Linked DNA regions of Homo sapiens: region 1 is linked to region 2. The links are contacts of gene promoters, found by promoter capture Hi-C in blood cells and fetal thymus (Javierre and others, 2016). All regions are on one chromosome and are shown on one strand. Each heading gives the region's core, a stretch centred on a gene start or on the middle of the fragment in contact. The rest is flanking DNA. Distances are from core to core; before and after follow the strand shown.

Region 1 (3,560 bases), core at 31-2,530, 69 kb before region 2:
AGAGCTGGGCGGGTGGGGCAGCCACTCCCGGCAGTTCCGAGAGGATCTGGAGGAAACGTGCCTTACTGCAAGGAGATGGCTGGCTAGCGGTGGAGCCCTGGGCGCCCTCAGGGGAGAGCCTTCCGGGGACAGCTGCCACCCTTCTGTGGTGCCGGCCTCCTTCCCGCCATGCACCATGCCCACGGCACCCAGATGGTGGAGCCGCCGCCGGTTCACACTCTGGGGAGTTTTCCCAGCAACAGGTCCCTCCAGCCAGGGCATGCAGGAAAGTGCCCTTACGACGTGCTCAGGGATACAGCCACTGCTCCCAAACGTCTCTGCCCAGAAAGGCAGGTGGGATGTTGACCATAGACACAATAACCAACGCTTGCTGTCGTGGGGCCTGTTTGACAGAGGGACAATGGAGGCCAGAGAGGCAAAGGTGACTTGTCCAAAATCACCCAGCCAGGGCCATTAGCCACCTGCTCAGCACTGCAGCTTTTGTGCCAGGGACCTGCAGACACTCACTCACACTCATGGAGCCAGGAGGACCAATCCATGAGCACAGGGCACCTCGGAGTCCCGGGCGGGCATTCTCCGGCGTCCTTCTTCTGAAGCTTCTGAAAAGTTGCTGAGAAAGACAGAGAGGGTGACAAGAAGAGGACAGGTGTGAGACCCTGCAGAACTGGGTTCCACGTGCCAGCAGGACCCAGAGACCACGGCACTCCCTTCTCCCTACTAACTGGAGACTCCGAGAGGAGTTCTAGACATGGCAAGACGAAACAAGTCCGTATCCCTTCTTTCCCAGAATCGAGAAAAATGACCGCATTTGTCAGCAGAGCATGCACTAGGCGAGCCCTGCCTTGCTGTTTAATTCATCCCAATGCTCCTTCCGAAGGGGCCCTCAGAGGATGCTTCCAAAGCCTGGCATAGGCGAAGCTCAGGACCCTGCACCAGGAGGTCCCACCCCGGAGCCCGGATCACTCCGGGAATCACAGCTTTCGGGAGGAGCACCTTGCTACCGAGCCTTTGGGGTCCTGCCCGGGCCAGCCCTTCTGCTTAGGGACCTGCAGTGACCCTGTGCTGGGTCATGTTCTTCTTGGCACAATGAGCACTCCCTGGGCAGGTGGTCCTGGCCCCTGGGAGCTCGGGGATAGAAACACAGAAGAGGTGTGGTCGGTGCATCTCTCAGATGACTCCACTTAGAGTAGTGTCCCCTGCCTCCAGCTTCCACCAGAGTGTGCCTTGGTGGAGACAGTTGCCAGCATGGAGGGGGCATGACCAGCCTGGGCCACTGCCAGCCTTGCTCAGCTGACAGCTGCTGCATGACCTTTGGCATGGCCTGTGGTCTCCCTAGGCCTCCCCATCTGTTGAACAAGAAGTGATCTGGACCAGAGACAAGCTGGCAGCCACGGCTGGGCAGCACCCACAGGCATGTGCGTCTTAGGGCTGTGCAGTGCTGTTGAAAGTTTGCCGTACACTGCTGGGGGGGATGGAAGATGGTTCGGCCACTCTGTAAAACTGTCCTGCAGGTTCTTAAGCTAGACACACCCCTACCAGAGACTCAGCCGTTCCACTCCTAGGAATTCTTCCCAGAGGGATGAAAACGCGTTCACACAAGGACTTATGCATGACTGTCCATAGCAGTTTTATTTGTGATAGCAAAAACCTGGGGGAAAAACCAAAATGTCTACCAACAAGTGATTGGATGAACAAATCATGGTGCATCCATACAACGCAGAAATAAAAAGGAGTGGAATTTTGAAACACATGACAAAATCAAACGTGAAAATAATTATGCTGCGTGAAAGAAGGCGTGTATACATGTGACTTCGTTCATATGGAATTCTGCAAAATGCAGTTGTCTGTAGTGACATCGGTGGTTCCTGGGGACAGGGGTGGGAGGACACAGGCAGGAGGACATGCTGTGGGTGACGAGGTTCACCGTGGACCATGGGAAGGGTTTCGTGGGTGTGCACATAGGTCGAAGCTTTCCAAATCATCACTTTTACATGTGCAGTTGATTGTGTCAAATAATCCTCAGTAGAGCTGGTCAAGATAGTTGAAACTATATTCAAAACTGGGAAACTGAACATAATGACCCCAATTGCACATTTCTGTTGGAAAATTAGAAGTTCTGGTAACACTAGGCCTGTATTCAGGTGTGGTGTGGGGAGTGGGGTGTGGCTTCCAAGGGCTGGGCGTGGCTGTGTTGGGTTGGGCGTGGCTGGGCTGGACACGGCTGAGCTGGGCTGGGCGTGGCTAGGCTGGGCTGGGTTGGGTGTGGTTGGTCATGGCTATGTTGGGCTGGGTGTGGCTGGGTGTGGTGTGGCGTGGCTGGACTGGGCATGGCTGCACTCAGCTGTGTTGGGCTGGATGTGACTGGGCGTGGTGTGGCGTGGCTGGGCTGTGCGTGGCTGCACTCAGCTGTGTTGGGCTTGGCTACTGCCCTCTGCACAGGCCTCACCGCTCCTCACTGTCCACGCGCTCTGTGGTCCAGCATCATTTCTGGTCTCGTTGGCTCTGCGGATTGTGTCCCTTATGCCTGGCCAGCTGCCTTCATCAAGGGTGACTGCCTGGTGCCTGCACAAGTTTGAGTTTGATGGACTTAAATGAATTTCACACTTTTAGTCACTGAAACTTTGGCCAACCTCCATCTTCCTACAGAAGCTCCAAGCATGAAAAACACAAATGTGGAGTTACGGTGTCTAAAGCGCTGTCAGCCCTTCCAGCCCTGCACACTCCCTCCTTCTCCTCCCGGGGTGGCCACGAGGCAGCTCTAGGGTTTGCACATCAGAGTAGTGCTGGGTGTCCTTCCCCTCCCTTGCCCTGGCAGTTCCAGGCCCTGTGCCAGGACCACACACCTCCCACACAGGTCCTCTCATGGGGCTGGTGCCCCCGAGCACACGATCCCCTCTCCCTGATCCCAGGCTCCTCTGTCATGGGAGGGGTGCGAGTTCTTGGAGGCCGAGAGTGTGGCCTGCCCAGGACCACTGGGAAAATGCAGGGTGAACTGTGGGTCTGGGTGACTCTCATGAGCCCCTCCTCCATCCCCCACAGCCCCTAAAGAGTGGGACGGTCTCAGGACCGCGTCCCGGGGTGAATCGTGCTCCTGAAATGGGGACTGTGGTGCACAGTCACATCATCCCTTCACACGGCGGCCACCAGGACACCTTCAGGGCACTTCCGGTGGCAGGAAACATCCCCAGGCCTGACTGCGCCTGAGGACGGTGATGCCATGGACCAGGAGCGCTTCCCGGAGCGGGAGCAGGCGCTCGCTGGCTGGAGCTCCCCCACTGTGTCTGACGCCTCATTCCCTGGATGTTCAGGGTTCCGGTGCTCAGCAAGAACCTGTCCGGACACGCTGGGGAGCAATGCCCCCACAGAACATCGGGGGCCAGCTGGACCATGGCACGTGCCAGACACTGCACCCCAGCAGCGGTGCATGCTTCTCCAGGGCACGCAGAGCAGTGACCAAGGCCGACCGCGCTGGGTCCCAGCACAAGTCTCAGTAGATCTTAAAAGACTCAAGTCGTGCAGAGAACAAAGTAAGAATAATCTCAAGATTTGTTGAGACTTGT
Region 2 (3,745 bases), core at 769-3,268:
ACTGCAGCTTTCAGGACAAGTGGGCCACAGGCATAGGCTCAGCCTGGCGCCCCCTGGGTTTCTCTGGAATAAGTGTGGGTGTCCCCCACCTGCCTGCACCCCACTCTACTCCCTGTCGGAACAGGGGCCCTTTGTAATCAGACCGGGGAGCTGACAGCCTCAGGAACAGCAGGTTCCTCCCACCCTGGGTCTGGCCCACTCTGACCCTCAGTCTCTTCTCCACACCCCGACCTCTGCCCACCACTCTGACCCTCAGTCTCTTCTCCACACCCCGACCTCTGCCCACCACTCTGACCCTCAGTCTCTTCTCCACACCCCCACCTCTGCCCAGCTCCATCTGGCTCCTGCTGAAGAACCCCACGTTCATCCTGCTCTGCCTGGCCGGGGCCACCGAGGCCACTCTCATCACCGGCATGTCCACGTTCAGCCCCAAGTTCTTGGAGTCCCAGTTCAGCCTGAGTGCCTCAGAAGCTGCCACCTTGTTTGGTGAGAAAACTGAATCTTGGGGGTCCTCTGCTTTTATGTCAGTTCTCAGAAACAGAGTCTTCAAGGGCATCTTCTAGAAAGACCCAGACAGGGCACATGGCAGTGAGTGCCCTCCCACCCCCGCTGCCAGAGCAGGTGTGGAGAGCGCCACGGGGGCTGAGCGACTCTGTCCACAGGCCGGGAGAGTGGTGGTCCTGCCCTCTTTGTGGGACATGCTCCGTAGGTGGAAGGGTCCACGGTGGGCTCCACCCCCTAGCCACCTAGTCTTGGCTTCTGTGACTTGGTGCAGGAAGGGTTTGGACCTGGCTGTTCCATGAGCCAGGCACTGGTGCCTCAGGACCTCCTGGAACAGTGCAGCTGGGGGTTTCTCGGTGCCAGAGGCAGGCTGGCCTTCCCAGGCTGGGCAGGTCTGCAGAAAGTGGGGACCCCTCCTCAGAGCTGCTCCTCCTGCCAGCGTTCACAGAGTACCCTGGGCCATGGCAGAGGTGCCAGGCATGTGGGCCACCACCGCCAATCTACCGCGCTCTACCCTTCCAGGGTCCACTATCTGGACAGGAAGAGGGCATCAGATGAGGGCTCCCCTCCCTCCCCCACAGGCCCATCCTGGCCTGGCCCCTCTGGGCTGACCTCACAAGCCCACATTCCCACACTCAACAGCCCCCCAGAGGTCAGCTCTACTGCCCCTTGGAGAGCCTCCCCACCTGTCCCCCCAAATCTGTCCCCTCCCCACCTGTCCCCCCAAACCTGTCCCCTCTCCACCTGTCCCCTCACCTGTGCCCTCCTCACTTGTCAGCCCAGAAGCTAGATGCCAGCTAATCGCAATTTTTTACTGTTGGTGGCCACTCAGGCTTCGACAAATGTCCTTGTCACAGCCTGCAGGGACTCGGCAGAGGCCCCTGGGGGAGGAGGGGGTGTGGCTGCCCTGGAGGGGGGTCAGTGGAGGAGTCATTGGCTTCCCACTGGGGCAGGGGCCGCTGACCTTGGAGCACTCTGGGCTCTCCTCCTCCCCCCGCCCCGCCCCGCCCCCCCGCTCCCCCTTCCCCTTCCCCTTCCCCTTCCCCTTCCCCTCTGAGGCATCCCCGCTGTGGGCTCTGGACAGAGGTCCCTCCTAGGGCTCTATCAGCGCAACAGCTAAGCACTCAGGTGTGGTGTTGAGTGCTGCCATGCAGGCAGGAATTGATCCCTCTATGCCTCAGTTTCCCCACCTGTAAAGTGGACCCGGCTGATCCACCACCCTCTCCCACCACGGCCCCCTGCCTGAGTCCCTGGCTGAATCCCTCCCTCTCCCCAGGGTACCTGGTGGTGCCAGCGGGTGGTGGCGGCACCTTCCTGGGCGGCTTCTTTGTGAACAAGCTCAGGCTCCGGGGCTCCGCGGTCATCAAGTTCTGCCTGTTCTGCACCGTTGTCAGCCTGCTGGGCATCCTCGTCTTCTCACTGCACTGCCCCAGTGTGCCCATGGCGGGCGTCACAGCCAGCTACGGCGGGAGGTGAGGGCCAGATGGCACCTGGGTACGCGTCGGGGCCCCAAGCACCCGCGGTCCCTGGGCATGGAGGAGGAGTGGTGCAGCACTTGGGAGAGGTGGTTTTGAAAAGGGCTACGTCACAGGACAGCGGCAAGGGCAACACCCGCTCAGCAGGGCACCCGGCAGCATCCACGTGAAAAGGCACCATGCCAGCCCCCAGCAGTGCCTGCGCTTGGGTCCCGGCTGTGCCCCCGGGCAGTCATATGCCTCTCTGGGCCTCAGCACTCTGCTCTGTAGCTGTGTCAAATGGAACAACAGCCCTAGTGTTCGGGGTCCTTGAGGCTGGTCTCTCGGTGACATAAAAAGTGTCCCAGGATGTGCTCCTGGAGTTGCCATGTGCTGGGAGTGGGAGGGACACCTGCTGGTCAGGTGGCAATTAGGGAATATCCAAAATACACGTAGGTAGCCTGCACCTCGGCCCTGCCCTGCGGGCCCCGGGAGTGCACCTGCAGGTGCCGTGCAAGGCCGAGAAGCACAAAGCAGCCGTTGTGGCATTATCGGAACCTAAGAGTCATCAGGGTGGACGGGGTCACTACGCTGTCCTCACAACAGAGGCCCTGCCCACAAAGGAGTGGAGGAAGCTCATCCTGGGCCACTGCCAAGACATACTGTGAAGTGGGAAAAAGGAAGGAGTTGGACAATGGGCGCAGTGTGCTCTGATTCAAGTGAGAAGTGCAGATGTTTGTGACTGCCGAGGGGCGTGTACGTGCAGACGACCCCTGCAAATGCACAGCCGGCCTGTGGCTGGAGAACCGAGGACTGGGGTGGGGCTGGGGCCACGAGGCTGCCTTTGTGTACTTGGCGCTTTTTCTTTCCTAATGTTTGTATTTGATCCATATGAATGTGTTGCCTGTCCAAAAACAAATGAACTAGGGAAAGGGGCTGTGCATCAGGCGGACGGTGCTGGGGGGCATGGGTGTGCCTTCCTTGCGTGAGGAGGAAAAACCATTCTATCACCAGAAGGCAGTGCCCAGTGTGAGTGCCCAGCGTGCTGGGGGCGGTGCAAGCTTGGCAAGTTTGTAGACCCGAAATGCAGGCTGCATGGGGACGAGCCCCATGGCTGACCCTGTGCCTGCTGGGCGCCAGCATGGCTCTGGCCTGGACCCTACCACTCGCTTGTCCCCCCTCTGCAGCCTCCTGCCCGAAGGCCACCTGAACCTAACGGCTCCCTGCAACGCTGCCTGCAGCTGCCAGCCAGAACACTACAGCCCTGTGTGCGGCTCGGACGGCCTCATGTACTTCTCACTGTGCCACGCAGGGTGCCCTGCAGCCACGGAGACGAATGTGGACGGCCAGAAGGTGAGTGGAGCCGCTGCCTACCGCCCCTGTCCTCCCCTGGACCCTGGGAAGGGGCCCCCGTGCCTTCCCCTTGTAATCGGAGCTATTGTTGGGCTTCCCAGGTGTACCGAGACTGTAGCTGTATCCCTCAGAATCTTTCCTCTGGTTTTGGCCATGCCACTGCAGGGAAATGCACTTCAACTTGTCAGAGAAAGCCCCTCCTTCTGGTTTTCATATTCGTTGTAATTTTCTTTACATTCCTCAGCAGCATTCCTGCACTAACGGCAACTCTACGGTAAGCTGGGGTCGGGTGTGCGCTTGTCCAGAGCTTTCCTTGCAGCACCCTGAGGCGGAGCTCTGCAGATCCTGAGACAGGAGCACTCCAGGAAACACCCAGGTCTAAGCGGGCCTGTCTGTCACTGGTGGCAGGAGAGACCTCACTGTCTCTGATCTCTGAC

What was found. The method cuts DNA at HindIII sites, captures the fragments that hold promoters and counts their contacts. A CHiCAGO score of 5 or more calls a contact.
Region 1: a fragment that was not itself captured here is called in contact with the fragment with the promoter of SLCO4A1-AS1 in region 2 in 1 of 17 cell types (monocytes); the score reaches 5.8 in monocytes.

The regions. Positions count from the first base shown.
Region 1 is chr20:62,596,609-62,600,168 of GRCh38, forward strand. LINC02970 (long intergenic non-protein coding RNA 2970) reads right to left here. Exons shown (of 2, transcript NR_184037.1): 2 at 1-610. Among named protein-coding and RNA genes, the nearest start is that of LINC02970, 5.1 kb to the right of the region's middle. The HindIII fragment of the contact is 1,373 bases long and covers 595-1,967 here.
Region 2 is chr20:62,664,603-62,668,347 of GRCh38, forward strand. SLCO4A1-AS1 (SLCO4A1 antisense RNA 1) reads right to left here and starts at 2,019. Exons shown (of 4, transcript NR_024470.1): 1 at 1,783-2,019; 2 at 1,258-1,408; 3 at 322-895. SLCO4A1 (solute carrier organic anion transporter family member 4A1) reads left to right here. Exons shown (of 12, transcript NM_016354.4): 6 at 332-486; 7 at 1,778-1,973; 8 at 3,143-3,308; 9 at 3,410-3,582. The HindIII fragment of the contact is 12,915 bases long and covers 1-3,014 here.